3 separate regions of the Homo sapiens genome follow, and regions 1 and 2 are each linked to region 3. The links are contacts of gene promoters, found by promoter capture Hi-C in blood cells and fetal thymus (Javierre and others, 2016). All regions are on one chromosome and are shown on one strand. The core of a region is centred on a gene start or on the middle of the fragment in contact, and the rest is flanking DNA. Distances in the headings are between cores, read along the strand shown. Region 1 overlaps SESN2 (sestrin 2). Region 2 overlaps EPB41 (erythrocyte membrane protein band 4.1). Region 3 holds the start of TRNAU1AP (tRNA selenocysteine 1 associated protein 1).

Region 1 (2,969 bases), core at 305-2,804, 290 kb after region 3:
GCCTGCCTACCAATATGCCATGTCCTTTCTTCCCAGGGACCAAAGATCCCTAACCCCTTCCAAGCTTACCTCCTCCACGGGGATGAAGGCGCTGGGCCCTCGAGGGCCTCGCCGAGCCCGGCTCTCCCTCTGCTCCTGGGAGGAAACATATGAGGTTAGTCCGTAGTAGAAGGGAGAATAAAGAGGATTATTACCTATCCAGCCTCTTCCTCCTATCCAAGGGGCTACACTGAAGTGTTAAACCCACCTTTCTAGCATACTTTGGATGGTGGAGCCAGATGGGAGATATACACATGTTTGGAAGGGTAATCAAGAAAGAGGGCTCACTCCAGGCTGAGTTCTTCAGGAACTGGGTTGGGACCCAAGAATCCCAGCATTGCGGGATGGGAGGGTCCTGGAAAAGGAACTATATAGCCATCATGCTGCACATCTCCAGGAGGCCACCTTCTTAGTGGTCCCAGAGAACTTATACAAGAACACACCACAGTTTGCACCCTGAAGCCAGGTAACCAAGTACCCCAGATGCTTCAGAAGCAGCTTCAATTTCTCTCACATGTTCGTTCGTTCCTTCCTTCCTTCCTTTCTTCCTCCTCCTCCTCCTTCTTCCTTCCTTCCTTCCTTCTCCTTCCTTCTTTTGCTTCTTTTTTTTTTTGAGACGGAGTATCGCTCTTGTTGCCCAGGCTGGAGTGCAATGGTGCGATCTCAGCTCATTGCAACCTCTGCCTCCTGGGTTCAAGCGATTCTCCTGCCTCAGCCTCCCGAGTAGCTGGGATTACAGGCATGCACAACCACGCTCACCTAATTTTATATTTTTAGTAGAAACTGGGTTTCTCCATGTTGGCCAGGCTGGTCTCGAATCCCCAACCTCAGGTGATCCGCCCACCTCAGCCTCCCAAAGTGCTGGGATTACTGGAATGAGCCACCACGCCTGGCCTCTTCTTTAGTGGTGCAGTCATAGCTCACTATAGCCTCAAACTGCTGGGCTCAATGGATCCTCCTGCCTTGGCCTCCCAAAGCACTGGGATTACAGATGGGAGTCACCATGCCTGGCTGCTTATCTGTCCTCCCACCACCACCACCTCATTAACTACCACCCCCTCTTGTCTGGACCACTACTCACAACCTCGCCAGTTGTCCCCCGGCCTCCTTAGCCCTGGCCTCTCCTATCCATCCTCTACCCAGTAGCCACATTAACTTTCTGAATATAAATCCGATCAACTGGCTTAAAACCCTACCTCCCCCTCCCATGGGCTTCCAGATACAACTGGCCCAGTCCCAGTGGTCACTCCTTTTGCAAAGCTAAACCACAATAGTCTAGGAACCTTTTTCTGGCCCTCACCTATGACCCCAAAATTCCCAGGGCTTTTGCTTCTAAAAACACTGTCATCAAATTGTCTGTTTTGTTTCCCTGACACCAGATCACATTTAGTGGAGAGCAGCGCCAGGTCATTCATACTAGTCTGTGAATGAAGACAGAGAAAGCAGAAAGGCACGGAGGGAATCTGAGCAGGGTGTACAAGGCTGATGGGAGCAACTGTTTTGACCTGTTATATGCTGCAGCCTCTTTAGAAACCACTAATATCAGGTACTCACTACATCTGCTTCTCCTAGTCCTAGAGATGGGGTTCAGGAAGGATGCTCTACTTATTAATTTATTTTGTTAATCTGAGAGTGGAGGTGGCTCTCAGCACTGGTCTTGTTTACAGTTTACCCAAATCAGAGCCATGCTCTCACTGGACAGGGATAGGAGGCGCCCAGTTCTCCCCTTCCCATTAAGATCCAGACTTAGTACCAGCCCTCAGGTATCCGGGAACCAAAAACTATAATTGAACCTTCCTTCTCAGATGGCCAAAAGCCCACTGAGGAGGCAGAGCTCTGGGACTCCAGAAGACTACAAAGTCTCTGGAATAGGTACCAATTCTGCAACTAACTTGCTATGTGGCTCTGGGAAAGTTAAAGGCCTAAACTCTCTTTACCTACTAAACTGGTAGGTAAAGTAGCCCAGCTACCTTCAAAAAGGGAGTTGAGCTGACCGTGCAGGCCCCCTTCAGCCCACACTTCTGGGAACTTCCGGGCCAGGCTGGTCCAAGTTCAGCGTAGTAACCAACACAATCCCTGAGCACTCCCCTTTGGAGCTTCCCTCCCCCTCACCAAAGAAAAAGCCCAACAGCTCTGTATAGGAGATAAGGATTGCTGACTCCACAAACTGGGCCTCCACCTCAGGGGACCTGAGGACAGAATAGCAAGCCACAGCAGGGTAGGGTGGAGCAAAACTGGGGGAGGCAGAGACGGCCCATCAGGGGTGCTAGGGAAGGATAGGAATAGCCTTGGGAATCCCAACTCACTCCAAAATCTGACCCAGGAATTGTCAAAAGAAGGAGCTCTAAGTCATCGGTCTGGATCCATCAACACTTTCAGCAATAACAACAACAACAACAATATACAATGCAGTTAAAAGATAGGGGCCCTTGGCTGGCGCAGCAGCTCATCCCAGCACGTTGGGACACTGAGGCAAGAGGATCGCTTGAGGCCAGGAATTCGAGACCAGCCTGGGCAACACAGTGAGACCCCTGTCTCCACAAACAGTAAATTAGCTGGGCATGGTAGCACACAACCTGTAGTCCCAGCTACTCAGGAGGCTGAGGCAGGAGGACTGCCTGAGCCCAGGAGTTTGAGGTTACAGCAAGCTATGATCGCACCACGGCATTCCAGCCTGAGCAACAGGGCAAGACCCTGTCTCAAAAAAAAAAAAAAAAAAAAAGATGGGGCTCTTGACACAAATTGCATGAGCTCAAATGACAGCTCCACCACCTGCTATCCCTTAGCTTTATGAGCCTCAGTTTCTTTACCAAATAATGGGGATAGCAGTAACTACTTCCACTGGCCAGTGATGAGGATTTCATGAGATAACACTGTGTAGCTTACCTCAATACCTCCATAACAATAAGCACTTAATAAAAAGTCAGGTA
Region 2 (3,020 bases), core at 245-2,744, 500 kb before region 3:
TCTGATAACATATTGTTATCCTCTTTTGTACTGAGACTTTTTTTTTTTTTTTAAGATGGAGTCTTGCCCTGTCGCCTAGGCTAGAGTGCAATGGCATGATCTCGGCTCACTAGAATCTCCGCCTCTCAGGTTCAAGTGATTCTCCTGCCTCAGCCTCCCCAGTAGCTGGGACTACAGGCACATGCCACCATGCCTGGCTAATTTTTTGTATCTTTAGTAGAGATGGGGTTTCACCATGTTGGCCAGGCTGGTCTTGAACTCCTGACCTCAAGTGATCTGCCTGCCTTGGCCTCCCAAAGTCCTGGGATTACAGGCGTGAGCCACCGCTCCCAGCCAAGACTCTTATATTTTAATCAATTTGCATGGAAATCAATAATTTTTATTATAGACTTTCCTGCATTCTTAAACTGACTATAACTGAACATGATTCATCCTGAAATTTTTAGATTTGTAAACTGTAAGGATCAGATAAAGGAATTCCATGAATCTGAACAGATAAAAACTTTAAATTCCCAACTACTTCATACAACAATATTAAGAAAGAAATGCTTGGCCAGGCACGGTGGCTCACACCTGTAATCCCAGCACTTTGGGAGGCCGAGGTGGGCAGATCACCTGAGGTCGGGAGTTCGAGACCAGCCTGGTCAACAAGGTGAAACGTCGTCTCTACTAAAAATACAAAAATTAGCCAAGTGTGGTGGTGGGCGCCTGTAGTCATAGCTACTCGGGAGGCTGAGGCAGGAGAATCACTTGAACCCGAGAGGCAGAGGTTGCAGTGAGCTGAGATCGTGCCACTGCACTCCAGCCTGGGCAACAGAGCCAGACTGTCTCCAAAAAAAAAAAAAAAAAAAAAAAAAAAAACAGAAAAAGAAAAAGAAAGAAATGCTCATTACTCTGTCATAATTTCCAATGAAAGAACTAATTCCTTAGCGGATATATAGGAAAAACAGCAGAAATTCAAGAATCCCCTTTATCAGCCAGGCGTGGTGGCTCACGCCTATAATCCCAGCACTTTGGGAGGCCAAGGTGGGTGGATCACGAGGTCAGGAGATTGAGGCCATCCTGGCTAACACAGTGAAACCCATCTCTACTAAAAAATACAAAAAATTAGCTGGGCGTGGTGGCGGGCGTCTGTAGTCCCAGTTACTTGGGAGGCTGAGGCAGGTGAATGGCCTGAACCCAGGAGGTGGAGCTTGCAGTGAGCCGAGATCGTACCACTGCACTCTAGCCTGGGCAACAGAGCAAGACTCTGTCTCAAAAAAAAAAAGGATCTCCTTTATCTTTCCATGAAAAATCTGCGGCCTCTTGCACAGATTGCTACTACTGGGTTAGTAGTAATAACTCTGGATTAGCACAGAGCTACTACTAATGGGTGCTTTAAGCAGTCACTGCAAGAGTGGCAGATGGCAGACCAAACCTGACAACACAGGGGAATGTGACAAAATATTTTGCTCACAGTTGTGTTTAAGTATCATTATACATGTGTATTCACACCTCCTCTCAAAGAATTAATTCAACTATGCCTGGCATCATAGAAACTTAGCCCATGCTTTCACCATGTGTTATTTTGCCACTTGTCTTTGGTTTCAATCCAGTACTAATACTGCAGAGCCAAATGATTTATGTCTTCAGCATTCCTAGCCTTGGCAATCTGTACTGTATGTGGAAAAGAAGGTATTAGTGTGGAAACTGACAGAAACAGAGTTCACAGATTGGAAAAATAATAACATTACAATAAAAAGCTCTGGCTGTGAAAGGCTGCGTGGAACAGAGGCAAAAGCCAAATCACGAGTCTTAGGCCCACACTCAGTCACATATAGTAGTGTGCCTAAGGCGTGGAGCTTAATCTTACAAACTTTAGTTTAATCATCTGTAAAATATGGAAGATATTAACTCTATAATATCATGGTAGTGATCATGGCTTTTTTTAACAGCTTTTTTTGAGATACAATTCACATACCACACAGTTCACTCATTTAAAATATATAATTCAATGCTTTTTAGTATATTCACAGTGTTGGGGGTAAGGATTGCTTTTTAAGATGTGTGGGTCTTCAGTTTTATTAATTCAGCTGTTAATATTTACAAGATTTTGGTGCATATATAGACAATACATAACTTTAAAAATCCAGTATCTCCCATATCTGAGGGTCTACATAAAGAAAAATGCTGATGGTGACCCACTAACTTCAATACTATATTGCTCTTGGCTGACAACAGAAACTTAGATAGTTATATACTACAGCAGTAAAGAATAAAATTCAAACCATCAGACTGAGTAAAGGCAAACAACTTCTACTTCTAGCTGTTATTTACTAGCACAATTTCTGCTAGTATGCGGTAGGGTGGTTCTTTTATCAGAGGACCACATAAATCATTTGTGTCCTCTGATACAATGTTTGTTTTTCAAGACAAAAAACAAAAAAATCAGATGATGCTCAGGCCCACTCTAGTGAGATGAGCTATCCAAGAGTGAGGCTTGGGCATGTGTTTTGTTTTAAAGCTCCAAAGGTGATAAGGATGTACACCCCTGGCAAGAATCACTGTAACCACTGCTCACTGAATGGATGAACTACCTGGTTGTGTGGCCCTTTCTTTTGTGCTCCAGTTTCCTCATGAGTAAAACTGTAATTCCTAAATGTTTTCTCTTATTGACTAAGTTGCTAGTATTAAATAGGAATACATGGAAATGGTTTGAAAAGCAAAAAGTGCAAGAAAAATATAATCTTTGTCATCATTATTAGCTACGCTTGCAACTTACTACTCTATCATAAAACTGGGATCTGAACCAGTTTTGGTACTCCAGCTGGTGAAGCAGATGCTCTAAGCACCACACATAACAGAAGAGGAAGGGAATGCTCATTTTTATCATTAAAATAAGACCCCTTATAAAGCAATTCTTGTAAAAGTTTCCCTGATACACCATCTCTAGCTTACAGAGTTATATTAATCTTTTGAAAAGGGAGGGGTGACTCAACGGGAAAAAGTATCTTTTAAGGAGCACAGAGAAGTATCTAAGG
Region 3 (3,328 bases), core at 281-2,780:
CTGCCTCGGCCTCCCAAAGTGCTAGGATTACAGGCGAGAGCCACTGCGCCCGGCTATTTATTGTAACTCTTCAAGTTATTAAGCCTCTTCATAATAGTATTTACCTACCTCAGAAGTTTCTGAGGTTTTAAGGAGATAATGGATGTAAACTGCTTATTACTCAGCAGATCGTAATCTGACTATACTTACTGAGCATATGCTATATGCCATACACTGTCCTAATGATGAATGTGAATTAACTCATTTAATCCTCACCATAACTCTAGGAGGTAGGTGCTGTTATTTCCATTTTTATACTCAAAGTGAATGAGACAGAGCAGTTAAGTAACTTACCCAAGGTCATAGAGTAGAAATAGCTTTCAAACCCAGTCTCGCTTGAGTCCTGCGTTTTTTGTTTTTTTGTTTTTTTTTTTTTTGAGACATTGTTTTGCTCTTGTTGTCCAAGCTGAAGTACAGTGGCACGATCTCAGCTCACTGCAACCTTCGCCTCCCGGGTTCAAGTGATTCTCATGCCTCAGCCTCCGGAGTAGCTGGGGTTACAGGTGCCTGCCACCACACCCGGCTAATTTTTGTATTTTTAGTAGAGACGGGGTTTCACCATGTTGGCCAGGCTGGTCTCAAACTCCTGACCTCAGGTGATCCACCCACCTCAGCCTCCCAAAGTGCTGGGATTACAGGTGTGAGTCACAACGCCTGGCAAGTCCTACCCTTAAGCTACATGCCATCCTTCCACTCATTGGGACCTCAAAATGTTAGCTGTTATAATTTTACAGTGACTATTACTAGGGGTAGTGAGAAGCCATGACTACGATGTTTACATTCTCGTACATGACAGCTGCAACGAGATGTATTAAGAGAGACCTGAGATGAGACTTACCCAGTGAGGCGGTTTCGGATAATTTTGACGCTCATTACGGTCTCCCCCATGGTGGCAAAGGCTCTGGAGATGAAGTTCTCATCCATGTAGGGTTCCAGCTGCGTAAAAACAAGAGCACAGCGGCTCAGGCCGGCGGCCGGGCTTCCCACTCCGGGTTCCAGAGCCCCTCCCGTTCAGCCCAGGGCTGGCTACGCGCCGCTGGGGGAGCGAGGGGCGAGGTTCGCCTCCACTGAGCGGCCTGAAACCCCAGCTCTTTTGGTTCAAGCTTGCCCCGCTTTAGGGAGCCTCCCCTTGGACCTAGAAACCCCACTCCTCCGGTCCCAGAACAGCGCGCCTCAGTCCTTGGATTGCTCCCATTCTATGTCCCCAAAGCACCACCTTTCCCTCCCACGAACCCAGGTGGGGCCCCAGGACCCCTAGCCTCACGGACTCAGCCTCTTCACTTAGATGCTGGAACCCGCTTCTGTGTCACCAAAAAGAACCCCCGTCACACGTCTCCCCTTTCTGGGATCCCAAGTCCCCTCCCACTCAGATCCTTCCTCTCTCGCGAAACCGAGATGCTTCCTTGTCTTCAGACCCCGGACGGCTGCCCTCACTCACGTCGCCCATCCACAGGCTGGCCGCCATACCCGCGCACCGGGGTGGGGCTTTGCGGGCGGGGCTCTGCGGGCGGGGCTCGAAGGCCCGCGCGGGCGCCAATCCTGGCTGCGGAGACCGCTACAGAGCATGCGCCTCCGACGGCTTCTGCGCAGGCTCCCGAGCGCAGCGGCCCGGGTCGGGCAGTGTGTTCAGCTCCGGGTTTTTCCTGCAACCCACTGGGCGCTAGGCTTCCGGATCGCGGTGGGCGGAGTTCAGGCTGGAATGGGGCGGGCCAGATACCACCTGGCCCAGGCGGCTGGGTTACTTGGGTTTATTTCTGACTTTATATATTTAGAAAACAAACAAAACTACACACACACACTCGTCTGACTTTATATAGAAAACAAAACCACACACACACAGACACATATAATTACAACATTAATATATGCTCGTTAGGGCTGGGCACGGTGGCTCACGCCTGTAATCCCAGCACTTGAGGAGGCCGAGGCGGGCGGATCACGAGGTGAAGAAATCGAGACCATCCTCGCCAACAGGGGGAAACCCCCTCTCTACTAAAAGTACGAAAATTAGCGGGCGTGGTGGCGAGCGCTGGTAGTCGCAGCTACTCGGGAGACTGAGGCAGGAGAATCGCTTAAACCCAGGGGGCAGAAGTTGCAGTGAGCCGAGATAGCGCCATTGCACCGCAGCCTGGTGACAGAGCAAGACTCCATATATATACATACACACACACACACACATACACATATATATACACATATATACACATATACACACATAATACACATATACACATATATACACACATACACATATATATACATATATACACACACACACACACATATATATGTATGCTCGTTACTTGGGTTAATTTCTGACTTTACATATTTAGAAAACAAACAAGGCCGGGCGCGGTGGCTCACGCCTGTAATCCCAACACTTTGGGAGGCCGAGGTGGGCAGATCACGAGGTCAGGAGATCGAGACCATCCTGGCCAACATGGTGAAACCCCGTCTCTACTAAAAATACAGAAATTAGCCGGGTATGATGGTGTGCACTTGTAGTCCCAGCTACTCAGGTGGCTGAGACAGGATAATCACTTGAACCCGGGAGGCAGAGGCTGCAGTGAGCCGAGATCGCGCCACTGCACTCCAGCCTGGGCGACAGAGTGAGACTCTGTCTCAAATTAAAAAAAAAACAAAAAACAAAAAACATACACACGTACACACACACACAAACACACACATAATTACAACATTAATATATGCTCGTTGTAAAAAACTGCAGATACAAGTGCATCCAAAAAAGTGAAAATATCCCTCCGGACAACCCGGTTCCACTACCTCCCTATTGTTACCAGGGGTTCTTAGGCTCTCAATCCAACAGAAATTAACATGAGGCCAAAAAAGTTTTCCCAGACAAGTCTTCATTGGAGCTTATGCCTGGGTATAAGGGAGGCAGCACAAGAGAGCGAGAATTCCCTGACTCTCCGAAAAGAGCTGGTTGAGATGTTTTATTGGGCAAAGCACGGAAAGTGATATCAAGTGTAGGGTTTACAGGCTGGGCAGGACAAAGCTCATGAGGGTGGGGTATGAAGGTCAGCATATCCTGTTGTAATGATTATCTTTTTTTTTTTTTTTGAGACGGAGTCTTCCTTTGTCGCCCAGGCTGGAGTGCAATGGCACAATCTCGGCTCAGAATAGCTAGAATCTAGCCTCCTGGGTTCTAGCTATTCTCCTGCTTCACCTCCTGAGTAGCTGGGATTACAGGCGCCCACCACCAGGCACAGCTAATTTTTGTATTTTCAGTAGAGACGGGGTTTCACCATGTTGGTCAGGCTGGTCTCGA

Evidence for each region. The method cuts DNA at HindIII sites, captures the fragments that hold promoters and counts their contacts. A CHiCAGO score of 5 or more calls a contact.
Region 1: a contact is called between a fragment that was not itself captured here and the fragment with the promoter of TRNAU1AP in region 3, in 2 of 17 cell types (fetal thymus and endothelial precursors). The highest score is 5.4, in fetal thymus.
Region 2: a fragment that was not itself captured here is called in contact with the fragment with the promoter of TRNAU1AP in region 3 in 1 of 17 cell types (total CD4 T cells); the score reaches 5.4 in total CD4 T cells.

Annotation. Positions count from the first base shown.
Region 1 is chr1:28,266,349-28,269,317 of GRCh38, reverse strand. SESN2 (sestrin 2) reads right to left here. Exons shown (of 10, transcript NM_031459.5): 2 at 70-135. Among named protein-coding and RNA genes, the nearest start is that of SESN2, 8.3 kb to the right of the region's middle. The HindIII fragment of the contact is 2,975 bases long and covers 67-2,969 here.
Region 2 is chr1:29,048,930-29,051,949 of GRCh38, reverse strand. The region is part of intron 11 of EPB41 (erythrocyte membrane protein band 4.1); the gene reads right to left. Among named protein-coding and RNA genes, the nearest start is that of TMEM200B, 73 kb to the left of the region's middle. The HindIII fragment of the contact is 7,587 bases long and covers 1-3,020 here.
Region 3 is chr1:28,551,287-28,554,614 of GRCh38, reverse strand. It overlaps TRNAU1AP (tRNA selenocysteine 1 associated protein 1), which reads right to left and starts at 1,530. Exons shown (of 9, transcript NM_017846.5): 1 at 1,478-1,530; 2 at 878-975. The coding sequence starts at 1,504. RefSeq lists silencers at 224-518, 1,451-1,590 and enhancers at 1,741-1,800, 1,524-1,818. The HindIII fragment of the contact is 4,615 bases long and covers 1,145-3,328 here.